Linked DNA regions of Homo sapiens: region 1 is linked to region 2. Evidence: promoter capture Hi-C in human tissues and cell types (Jung and others, 2019). All regions are on one chromosome and are shown on one strand. The core of a region is centred on a gene start or on the middle of the fragment in contact, and the rest is flanking DNA. Distances in the headings are between cores, read along the strand shown.

Evidence for each region. The method cuts DNA at HindIII sites, captures the fragments that hold promoters and counts their contacts. A contact is called where the count stands out against the background at its distance.
Region 1: a fragment that was not itself captured here is called in contact with the fragment with the promoter of FBXO27 in region 2 in 2 of the 25 tissues and cell types used here (H1 embryonic stem cells and mesendoderm cells).

What each region holds. Positions count from the first base shown.
Region 1 is chr19:39,113,981-39,118,932 of GRCh38, forward strand. No RefSeq gene overlaps it. Among named protein-coding and RNA genes, the nearest start is that of PAK4, 9.3 kb to the right of the region's middle. The HindIII fragment of the contact is 4,790 bases long and covers 1-4,258 here.
Region 2 is chr19:39,028,646-39,034,073 of GRCh38, forward strand. FBXO27 (F-box protein 27) reads right to left here and starts at 3,904. Exons shown (of 6, transcript NM_178820.5): 1 at 3,858-3,904; 2 at 3,219-3,608; 3 at 2,564-2,675; 4 at 2,384-2,479. The coding sequence starts at 3,582. RefSeq lists enhancers at 2,483-2,592, 2,999-3,791 and silencers at 2,701-2,883, 2,733-2,972, 3,123-3,202, 3,403-3,552, 3,613-3,682. The HindIII fragment of the contact is 13,585 bases long and covers 2,420-5,428 here.

The sequences.
Region 1 (4,952 bases), core at 614-3,113, 83 kb after region 2:
CCTGAGTATCTGGGATTACAGGCACCCGCCACCACACCTGACTAATTTTTATATTTTTAGCAGAGACAGGGTTTCACCATGTTGGCCATGCTGGTCTCGAACTCCTGATCTCAAATGATCCGCCCGCCTCGGCCTTCCAAAATGCTGGGATTACAGGCGTGAGCCACTGCACCCAGCCTCGGTTTTGTTAATGGGCTAAAAAAAAAAGAATGAATAAGACCTACTATTTGATCACACAACAAGATGACTATTCTCAATAATAATTGTACATTTTTAAATAACCAAAAGAGTGTAATTGGGTTGTAACACAAAGGATAAATGCTTGAGGGGATGGATACCCCATGCCTGTATCAAAATATCTCATGTACCCCATAAATACATACACTTACTATGGACCCAACAAAAATTAAAACCTAAGGCTGGGCACTGTGGCTTATACCTGCAACCCCAGCACTTTGGGAGGCCGAGGTGGGAGGATCACTTGAAGTCAGGAGTTTGAGACCAGCCTGGCCAACATGGTGAAACTCCGTCTCTAGCAAAAATACAATTAGCTGGGCGTGGTGATGTGCACCTGTGGTCCAGCTACTCAGGAGGCTGAGGTGGGAAAATCGCTGGAGTCCGGGAAGTTGAGGCTGCAATGAGCCAAGATCGCACCACTGCACGCCAGCCTGGATGACAGAGTGATATCCTGTCTCAAAAGTAAAAAAAAAATTAAATAAATTCTTAAAAAAGTAATAATTAATAATAAAATAAAACAGCTTTACCCTCCATACACCTCCCATCTCCCTTCTCTGCTTTATATTCCTTCAAGACACTGAGGGCTGGGAGCGATGGTTCATGCCTATAATCCCAGCACTTTGGGAGGCCAAGGTGGGCGGGTCACCTGAGGTCAAGGAGATCAAGACCAACCGGAGGTCATCGGGCTGGCCAACATGGTGAAACCCCGTCTCTAGTAAAAATACAAATTTAGCTGGGTGTGGTCATGCACACCTGTAATCCCAGCTACTTGGGAAGCTGAGGCAGGAGAATTGCTTGAACCTGGGAGGCAGAGGTTGCAGTGATTCAAGATAGCACCACCTGCACTCCAGCCTGGGTGACAGAGCAAGATTCCATCTCAAAAAAAAAAAAAAAAAGCATTTAGATCTTGTGACCCACTATATACATACATGTTTGATTATTTTTTTCCTTTTCTCCCCCAAGAGAATGTGAGCTCCCTGGACAACAGGGTTTTTTTGTTTGTTTGTTTTTTGCCAGTTCTGTCCCCTGCTGTTACCTTGGTCACTGGTATATAGTAGGTGCTCAATAAACATGGTTTACGTGGAAGAAAGAAGGAATGAGAAATAAAGGTAAGCTTAGCACAGGGCCTGGCACTGAGGGATGCTTATCAGTAGGAATGACAGTGACTTAGGTGACTCAGATAAAGGCTCAGCCCTCGGGAGCTCCCCGTGGCTGGGTGCGCAGCAGACAGGCACGCAGGACTGGTTGCAACACCTGCCCTGTGTGACGTGCACAGGAAGTTGCAGGTTGCAGGGCCAGAGACCCTGAAGCTTCTGAGAGGCGAAGCTGAGCAAGGTCTTTTTTTTTTTTTTTTTTTTTGAGACAGGGTCTCACTGTGCCGCCCAGGTTGGAGTGCAGTGGTGCAATCATGGCTCACTGCAGCCTTGGCCTCCCCAGGCTCAAATGATCCTCCCACTTCAGCCTCCCGAGTTTCTGGAACTACTAGGCGTGCCACCATACCCAGCTAATTTTTGTATTTTTTGTAGAGATGGGGTCTTGTTATGGTGCCCAGGCTGGCCTCCAACTCCTGGACTCAAGCAATCAGCCAGCCTTGACCTTCCAAAGTGTTGGGATTATAGGCGTGAGCCACCACGTCCCCCGCCACAAGGCTTTCAAAGGCCGCACAGATGCCTACGCTGCAGGCTGGGGTTGGGAGGTAGCGGGTGGTCCCAGAAAGGGAAGCAGGGCCACGGGGAGAGCTCATGGGAAGGCTGGGGGATCCATGGGGCTCTGGATTCATTCATCAATAAGTATTTATTTATTAAACTCCTTTGTTGCTCAAATCAGCCAGAAGTGGTTTCTGTTGATGGCAACTGAGAACCATGAAAGAAACATTGACCCCCTGTGAAGGGAAAACCTTTGAAACTGTGTTTTTTCTCTGCTCTCACACCACAACGGCCAGGTGCGGTGGCTCACACCTGTAATCCCAGCACTTTGGGAGGCCGAGGCAGGCGGATCACTTGAGGCCAGGAGTTGGAGACCAGCCTGGCCAACATGGTGAAAACCCATCTCTTCTAAAAATACAAAAATTAGCCAGGTGTGGTGGCAGGTGCCTGTAATCCCAGGTACTCGGGAGGCTGAGGCAGGAGAATCCCTTGAACCCGGGAGGCAGAGGTTGCTGTGAGCCGAGATCGCACCACTGCACTCCAGCCTGGGCAACAGAGCAAGACTCTATCTCAAAAAACAAAACAAAACGAAACACCACAACAACAATCATCAACATAGACTGTGATCAAACGCAGGGGGCGGGTTCTTCCACAGACCAGGCAGCAGACACCAGCTGGGTGTCCTCCAACTCATTTCTGACACCATCTACCCAAAGACGGCCTCAGATCCCACAGGTTGAGGGTTCAGTCCCACACACTGCTCCCTCCCTCCCCAGCCGCATGTCTGGGTCTCCGGAACTTCTGACTGGCCAGCTTCAAGTTAGGGTTTCCACGACCCCCTCTTGGGGTTCGATTTATTTGCTAGAGCGGCTCACAGAACTCAGGGAAACAGTTACATTTGCAGGTTTATGACTAAGGATATTTTAATGAAGAGATGCATAGGGTGAGCATAGCAGCTTCTGTCCCCATGGAGTTGGGGCGCACCACCCTCCCAGCACCTGGATGAGTTCTTCTTTTATTCTTATTTTTTGAGATGGAGTGTTTCACTCTTGTTGTCCAGGCTAGAGTGCAGTGGTGCAATTTTGGCTCACTGCAACCTCTGCTTCCTGGGTTCAAGCGATTCTCCTGCCTCAGCCTCCCAAGTAGCTGGGATCACAGGTACCTGCCACCACACCTGGCTAATTTTTGTATTTTCAGTAGAGACGGGGTTTCACCATGTTGGCTAGGCTGGTCTTGAACTCCTGACCTCAGGTAATCCACCCAACTTGGCCTCCCAAAGTGCTGGGATTATAGGTGTGACCGACTGCACCTGGCCTATTTTTATTTTATTTTTTGAGACAGCGTCTTGCTCTGTTGCCCAGGCTGGAGTGCAGTGGTGCAATTACAGCTCACTGCAGCCTCAACGTCCAGGGCTCAAGCAATCCTCCTGCCTCAGCCTCCCAAGTAACTGGGACCACAGGTGAGTTCCACCATGCCCGGTTAATTTTCTAAATTTTTTTTTTTTTTGTAGAGACAGCGGTGTGGGGCGAGGGGTAGGGGACGGGTCTTGCTGTGTTTCCCAGGCTGGTCTTGAACTCCTGGGCTCAGGTGACCCTCCTGCCTCCCAAAGTGCTGGGATTCCAGGCGTGAGCCACCACGCCCGGCCTGCATCTTATATTTTTATTGGCTAAATTTGGCCATCCTAAGATTGAGCAAGGGGGACATGGAGGGAGATGAGAATAGAGCATGTGGAGTGGGCAAAAAGTTGAGAAGGAGACTCGCAGATCCTACAAACACAGCCAAAGAGACAAACCTCTTGGAAGTTTTTTGCAAGGGCTTCTGTTATATGGGCTCCCTCCTTGGACAGGAGTCCCTCCTCCCAGCCCCTTCCTCCCTCCAGATCTTCAGTGCTTCTTTTCAGCAAATTTTAAAAATGGTAATAGTTTTATTTTATTTCAGGTGAGAAAGCAACACACTCATTGCTAAAAATATATAAACTCAAACCATGCAAAAAAGAATAAAGCAGACACAAACATGATAGTTATGTGAGGTAATGCATATGTTAATTAGCTAGAGTTAGTCATCCCAAAATGTATATATACTTCAAACATCGTGTTGTACACGTTAAATACATACACTTTTATCTGTTAATTTTTAAAAAGAGGGCTGAAATCCCACCACTTTGGGAGACCAAGGCAGGAGGATCGCTTGAGGCCAGGAGTTCAAGACCAGCATAGGCAACAAAGTGAGACACTCTCCCCGTCCTTGCTACCTAGCTAGCTAAATAAAAAAGAAATAATAAAATAAAATAAAAAGAATGTAGGCCAGGCGCGGTGGCTCACTCCTGTAATCCCAGCACTTTGGGAGGCTGACAAGGGCAGATCACCTGAAGTTACAAGTTCGAGATCAGTCTGGCCAACATGGTAAAATCCCGTCTCTACTAAAAATACAAAAAGAAATTAGCCAGGCATGGTGGTGTGCACCTGTAATCCCAGCTGCTCTGGAAGCTGAGGCAGAAGAATCACTTGAACCCGGGTGGTGGAGGTTGCAGTGAGCCTAGATTGCGCCACTGCACTCTAGCCTGATGAGAGAGAGAGTCCGTCTCCAAAAAAAAAAAAAAAACACAACATATTTATATGGCCTTTTGTTAAAATTGATAAACCAATATTGATATATTATTATTAACTAAAATCTAAATTTTATTCTACTGCATTTTAAAAACATTTTAATATAACTCTATTGAGATATAATTTTTTTTTTTTGAGACGGAGTCTCGCTCTGTTGCCCAGGCTGGAGTGCAGTGGCGAGATCTCGGCTCATTGCAAGCTCCACCTCTTGATTCATGCCATTCTCCTGCCTCAGCCTCCTGAGTAGCTGGGACTACAGGCACCCGCCACCACACCCAGCTAATTTTTTGTATTTTTAGTAGAGATGGGGTTTCACCGTGCTAGCCAGGATGGTCTCAATCTCCTCACCTCGTGATCCGTCTGCCTCGTTCTCCCAAAGTGCTGGGATTATAGGCGTGAGCCACTGCGCCCGGCCTTTTTTTTTTTTTTTTTTTTGAGACAGGGTCTCACTCTGTCACCCAGG
Region 2 (5,428 bases), core at 2,654-5,153:
TGAGGTCAGGAGTTCGAGGCCAGCCTGGCCAACGTGGCCAAACCCCGTCTCTACTAAAAATACAAAAATTAGCCAGGCGTGGTGGTACACACCTGCAATCCGAGCTACTGGGGAGGCTGAGGCAGGAGAATCACTTGAATCCAGAAGGCAGAGGTTGCAGTGAGCTGAGATTGTGCCATTGCACTCCAGCCTGGGTGACAAGTGAAACTTTGTCTCAAAAAAACAAAAAATTCAAAAATTAGCCAGGCATGTAAAATTAGCCAGTATGCACCTGTAGTCCCAGTTACTCAGGAGGCTGAGGTGGGAGGATTTTTTGAGGCCAGGTGGTAGAGATTGCAGTGAGCCGAGATCACGCCACTGCACTCCAGCCTGGGTAAAAGAGCAAGACTCTGTCTCTAAAAAAAAAAAAAAAAAAAAAAATCTTATTGGAGATGTATCTCTTAATGAGATGGAGTTGGGGAATAGGGTTATGGTGCCTTGATTAAGAGTGAATTTGCTGGCCAGGCACAGTGGCTTATGCCTGTAATCCCGGCACTTTAATAGGCTGAGGTGGGCAGATCACCTGAGGTCAGCAGTTCAAGACCAGCCTGGGCAACATGGTGAAACCCCATCTCTACTAAAAATAAAAAAAAATAGCCAGGTGTGGTGGTGCACACCTGTAATCCCAGCTACTCGGGAGGCTGAGGCAGGAGAATCACTTGAATCTGGGAGGTAGAGGTTGCAGTGATCTGAGATTGCACCATTGCACTCTAGCCTGGGCCACCTAGTGAGACTCTGTCTCAAAAAAAAAAAAAAAAAAAGTGAATTTGCTAAGGCCCCAAATTTCCAATGGCCACTTTGCCTGGCTCCCCAGTAGTCCTTACATCTGGGGACCACACCTTAGTGAGGGGCTTTTTTCCTATAAAACTAGAGAAGGGGGACACTGAGAAAGAGATTGGGGAACGAGAATCATATGATACTTCCCACACAGATGTAACCTATAGCAGATTAATTGTGTAATAGGGGGCTCATGGCTGTAGTGGACCTGGAATTTGACTCCCATAAAACCATCTGGGTCATATATCCCCTGGAAAGTCTTCATGCACCCCAGTTTCAAGACCATCACTACAGAGGACAAGCTCTGGAGTCAGAATCTGACTCTGAGCCTTATGCCAGGTTCTGCCAAGCCCAGGCTGTGTGACCAGACCAGGGCAAGTCATCTCCCCTTTCTTTTTTTGATGGAGTCTCGCTCTGTTGCCCAGGCTGGAGTGCAGTGGTGCCATCTCAGCTCACTGCAACCTCCACTTCCCGGGTTCAAGTGATTCTCCTGCCTCAGCCTCCTGAGTAGCTGGGACTACAGACACTTACCATGACGCCCAGCTAATTTTTTGTATTTTTAGTAGAGATGGGTTTTGCCATGCTGGCCAGGCTGGTCTCGAACTCCTTAGCTCAAGAGATCTGCCCACCTCGGCCTCCCAGAGTGCTGGGATTACAGGCATGAGCCACCGTGCCCAGACTGCCATCTCCCCTTTCCCAACCTCTCAATTTCCTGAGAAGCTCTGAATGATCTGAGGGCTTGAAATACACCTTCCCACAGGATCAAGGTTCAAAAAAAGGTGCTCACATAAAGTACTTGCTATGTGTTTGCCATATAATAATTGTCATTGCAAGAGCCCTATCTTGTAAACAGGGGAAACAGAGGTATGCTGTGACTTGCCCAAGGCTACAAAGCCACAGAGCTAGGGTTTGAATCTGGGAGGTCTGGCTCCAGAACCTAAGCTCTTGGCTAACTATGCTGTTTTCTCCTCCTAAGGCAAGGAGCATCTCATTCATTCACAGACAAGACTGAGCTGGGCCAAAGGTCTCTGTACTGGATCTCATCTTCTGTCTTCCAATCCACATCCTTTTGGGCATGAGCAGAAAGTGTGTACTCTGCTAATTACTAGAACTGTGAGTGTGTTTTTCACTTCACCTCCCTGAACTTCAGTTTCTTTTCTTTCTTTTTTTTTTCCAGGACTGAGTCTCACTCTGTCGTCCAGGCTGGAGTGTAGTGGTACAACCTCCACCTCCTGGGTTCAAGTGATTCTCCTGCCTCAGCCTCCCAAGTATGTGGGACTACAGGTGTGCACTACCAGGCCCGGCTAATTTTTTTTTTGTATTTTTAGTAGAGACGAGGTTTTGCCATGCTGGTTGGGCTGGTCTCGAACTCCTGACCTCAAGTGATCTGCCTGCCTCGACCCCCCAAAGTGCTGGGATTATAGGTGTGAGCCACCATGGCTGGCCTGAACTTCAGATTTTTTATCTGTAAGGAGGGGTTAGGAGGCCTAAATTAAGTCACCCATAAAAAGGCCATGTCACATGCAGTCAGTGCTTAGCAAGGGGCTATTTTAATCGTCACACTCACCAGTCAGAGACACAAATCTCAATCCTGCCACTATCCAGCAGTTCTGGCCACAGACCCTCCTCCTCTAGGTCCAAGACCTGCTTCTTGCAACACCAGCTGGGAATGCAGGAGACAGGGTAATGAGAACAGGCAGGCCTTTCTCAACAAGGGGCCGGACCTTTGGATAGCAGGGGCATTCACCTGAATGAAGTCACGAAGCACGTCTGAGAAGGGGCCCCAGGCACGGTTGTCCTGTTTTCCTCCACCACCCAGCCGTCCCCACCGTGTTGCACCATCCACTTTCGGAGGCCTTCTGTGAAATAAAAAAGGCTTGTGCCCAAGTTCCAGTCGCCCGCCTGTTGGTTCCTAGTGAGACCCCGCCCCTAGCCCCTCCCACGTGCTCACAGTGCAGCTCACTCACCTGACCCTTCCCACCGAGGCCCCGCCCCCTTCCCCTCCCACCAGCTCAGGGCAAAGCCCCGCTCCTCTGGCCCTTCTCACTGATTTGCAGCAAAGCCCTGCCCCTCCAACCCCTCTCTCGGGCTCCCAGAACTGCCCCACTCCCACCCCTCCCACAGGCAAACGGTGAAGCCCTGCCCAGTCAGCCCTGCACCCTGCGTGCCAATGCTGCCTCGTCCCTCCGACACCTCCCACCGGCTCCCAATGCTGCCCCGCCCCTCCGGCACCTCACACCGGCTCCCAATGCTGCCCCGCCTCTCCGACTCCTCCCACCGGTCCCACTGCGGCCCTGCCCCTGCGGCCCCTAGTACCGGTCCCAGTGCGGCCCCGCCCCTCCGGCCCCGCTACCGCTCCCACTGTGGCCCAGCATCCTGGACTTCCTCTTCCGAGATCCCACCTTGGCCGCAGGGGTTGCGAATAAGGTTGCGTCCGATGGGTCTGCGCGCGCAGAAGCGGCCCAGGGGGCAAGGCCTGGCGTTACGGGCGGGAGACTGGCAGCTGCGGGCGAGGTGCAGCAGCGCGCGGCCGGTGGCGCCGTGGTCGCGGGCCAGGATCAGCAGCCACAGGGCCTGGCCGTCCACCAGGGCTCGCCAGCCCCGGCACACTTGGCGGCAGCGCCCGAGCAGCGTGCGCGGGGGGACGTGGCTCAGCACCACCAGAAGCAGCTCTGGGGGTAGTTGGCTCAGGTCCAGCGCCTCTTCGGGTTCCGGCTCCGGCGCGGGGACCCGGGCGGCCCGGCCCCTGGAGACCGAGGCGCCCATGGTCCCCCCGCCAGGCCCGGCTGTGGCTGCGGGAGAGGAAGGGTCAAGGCGTCAGGGACCAGCAGCCTCCGCGGCGCGCAGCCTCTGCCTGCCCTGATTCTGCCAGCCGCACCCCCGTCTTCACCATCCCTGGGCCCCGTCCCCAAGTCCCCATCCCCCAGCCCGTCCTTGATAGCCCCGATATCCCGGAGACCCCGCGGTCTGTGTGTATGCCCCGAATTGCATGCAATCAGCCCCCCTCGGCGGCCGCACCGACACCGCACCCCAAGTCCTACCCCGGGGCCTGGCGGCGCTCCTCGCCGGGATGCCCTAGCTGTGCCGCAAGCTCCCCACGCCCCTCTGCGTCCTTTTTACTCGCCGGCCCCTCCCCTCTTACTAGCCAGCTTCACCCACCCCTGCATCCTCTTTCTTACTCGCCAGCCCCTCCCGCCTGCTCCCTCCCGCTCTCCAAACCCAACCTGCTTCCCGCGACGGGGCCAGGTGCAGCCAGGAGCCAAGGCCTGCTGCTCACAGCCGTCCCCTCCAGCCGGCCCCTTGAAGTGTCCCTAATTCGTTAGTAGCAATGAGACGTCTGGCTCTGAGCAACCATTGTTATTTTGGTCAGGCTTCTGAGTGGGAGGCCTCGTATCCGTTAACGTGTTAAAAAATTTCCATCACCTTTAAGGTCGGGCGTGGTTATCTTCATTTCACAGGAGAAAACAGGCTCCGGCTGCTAAAAATTAATGCAACCAATAGTAACACCAGCCAACTTTTATGGACGGTTTTACTGCCAGCCAGGGTGGCAACCCCATGAAGTAGGTGCTGTTATGCCCTTTACTTCACAGGTGAAAAAACTGAGACCAGCAGAGGCCAAGTGGCTTGTCTATGATCACCAGCTAGTAGGGATTTGAATCCAGCCAGCCTAGCTCCGGAATTCCTCATTTTAACCTCTAGATCAGCTCTGTCCAATAAAAATACAATTGTGGCTGGGTGCGGTGACTCATGCCCGTAATCCCAGCACTTTGGGAGGCCAAGGCAGGCGGATCGCTTGAGGTCAGAAGTTCGAGACCAGCCTGGCCAACATGGTGAAACCCCGTCTCTACTAAAAATACAAAAATTAGCTGGGCGTGGTAGCACGCGCCTGTAATCCCAGCTAATTTGGAGGCTTAGGCAGGAGAATTGCTTGAATCCGGGAGGGGGAGGTTGCAGTGAGCAGAGATTGCACCACTGCACTCCAGCCTGTGCAAAAGAGTGAGTGAGACTCCGTCTCAAAAAACAAACAGAAAAAAAAAATTGTGAAAGTTGATCATGTGAATTGGATCCTTCTTGTCATATCCAACTAAAACAAAGTTGAGAGGCCGGGGGGAAAACACTTAGGGCAGATACCATTGCTCCAAGAAAGTGATTCTCTGCAAGCCTGGCTGTTAAAACTGCCTGTTGTAACCTGGAAGCAGTCTAACTGGTACTGAAAAAACCTGCCGTGACTCTAAGACTAGTTTTTCCCTCTGCTGTCACTTACCAGTCAGAACTTGCCAGCTCCCCAGAACGTTGCTAGTGTCAATGAACTTTCTTGCAAAACAATACCTAACATTTCTGTTTCTTATAAAAACCTCTAACCTCTTTGTTCTTTGAAAGTTCTGAAGACCGCCTGGTCTGTGTGGATGCCTCGAATGTCAATTCTTGCTTCCCAAATAAAACATTTTATTATTTTTTTGAGACAGAGTCTCGCTCTGTCGCCCAGGCTGGAGGGCAGTGATGCAATCTCGTCTCACTGCAACCTCCGCCTCATGGGTTCAAGCGATTCTCCTGCCTCAGCCTCCCGAGTAGCTGGGATTACAGGCGCATGCCACCATGCCCAGCTAATTTT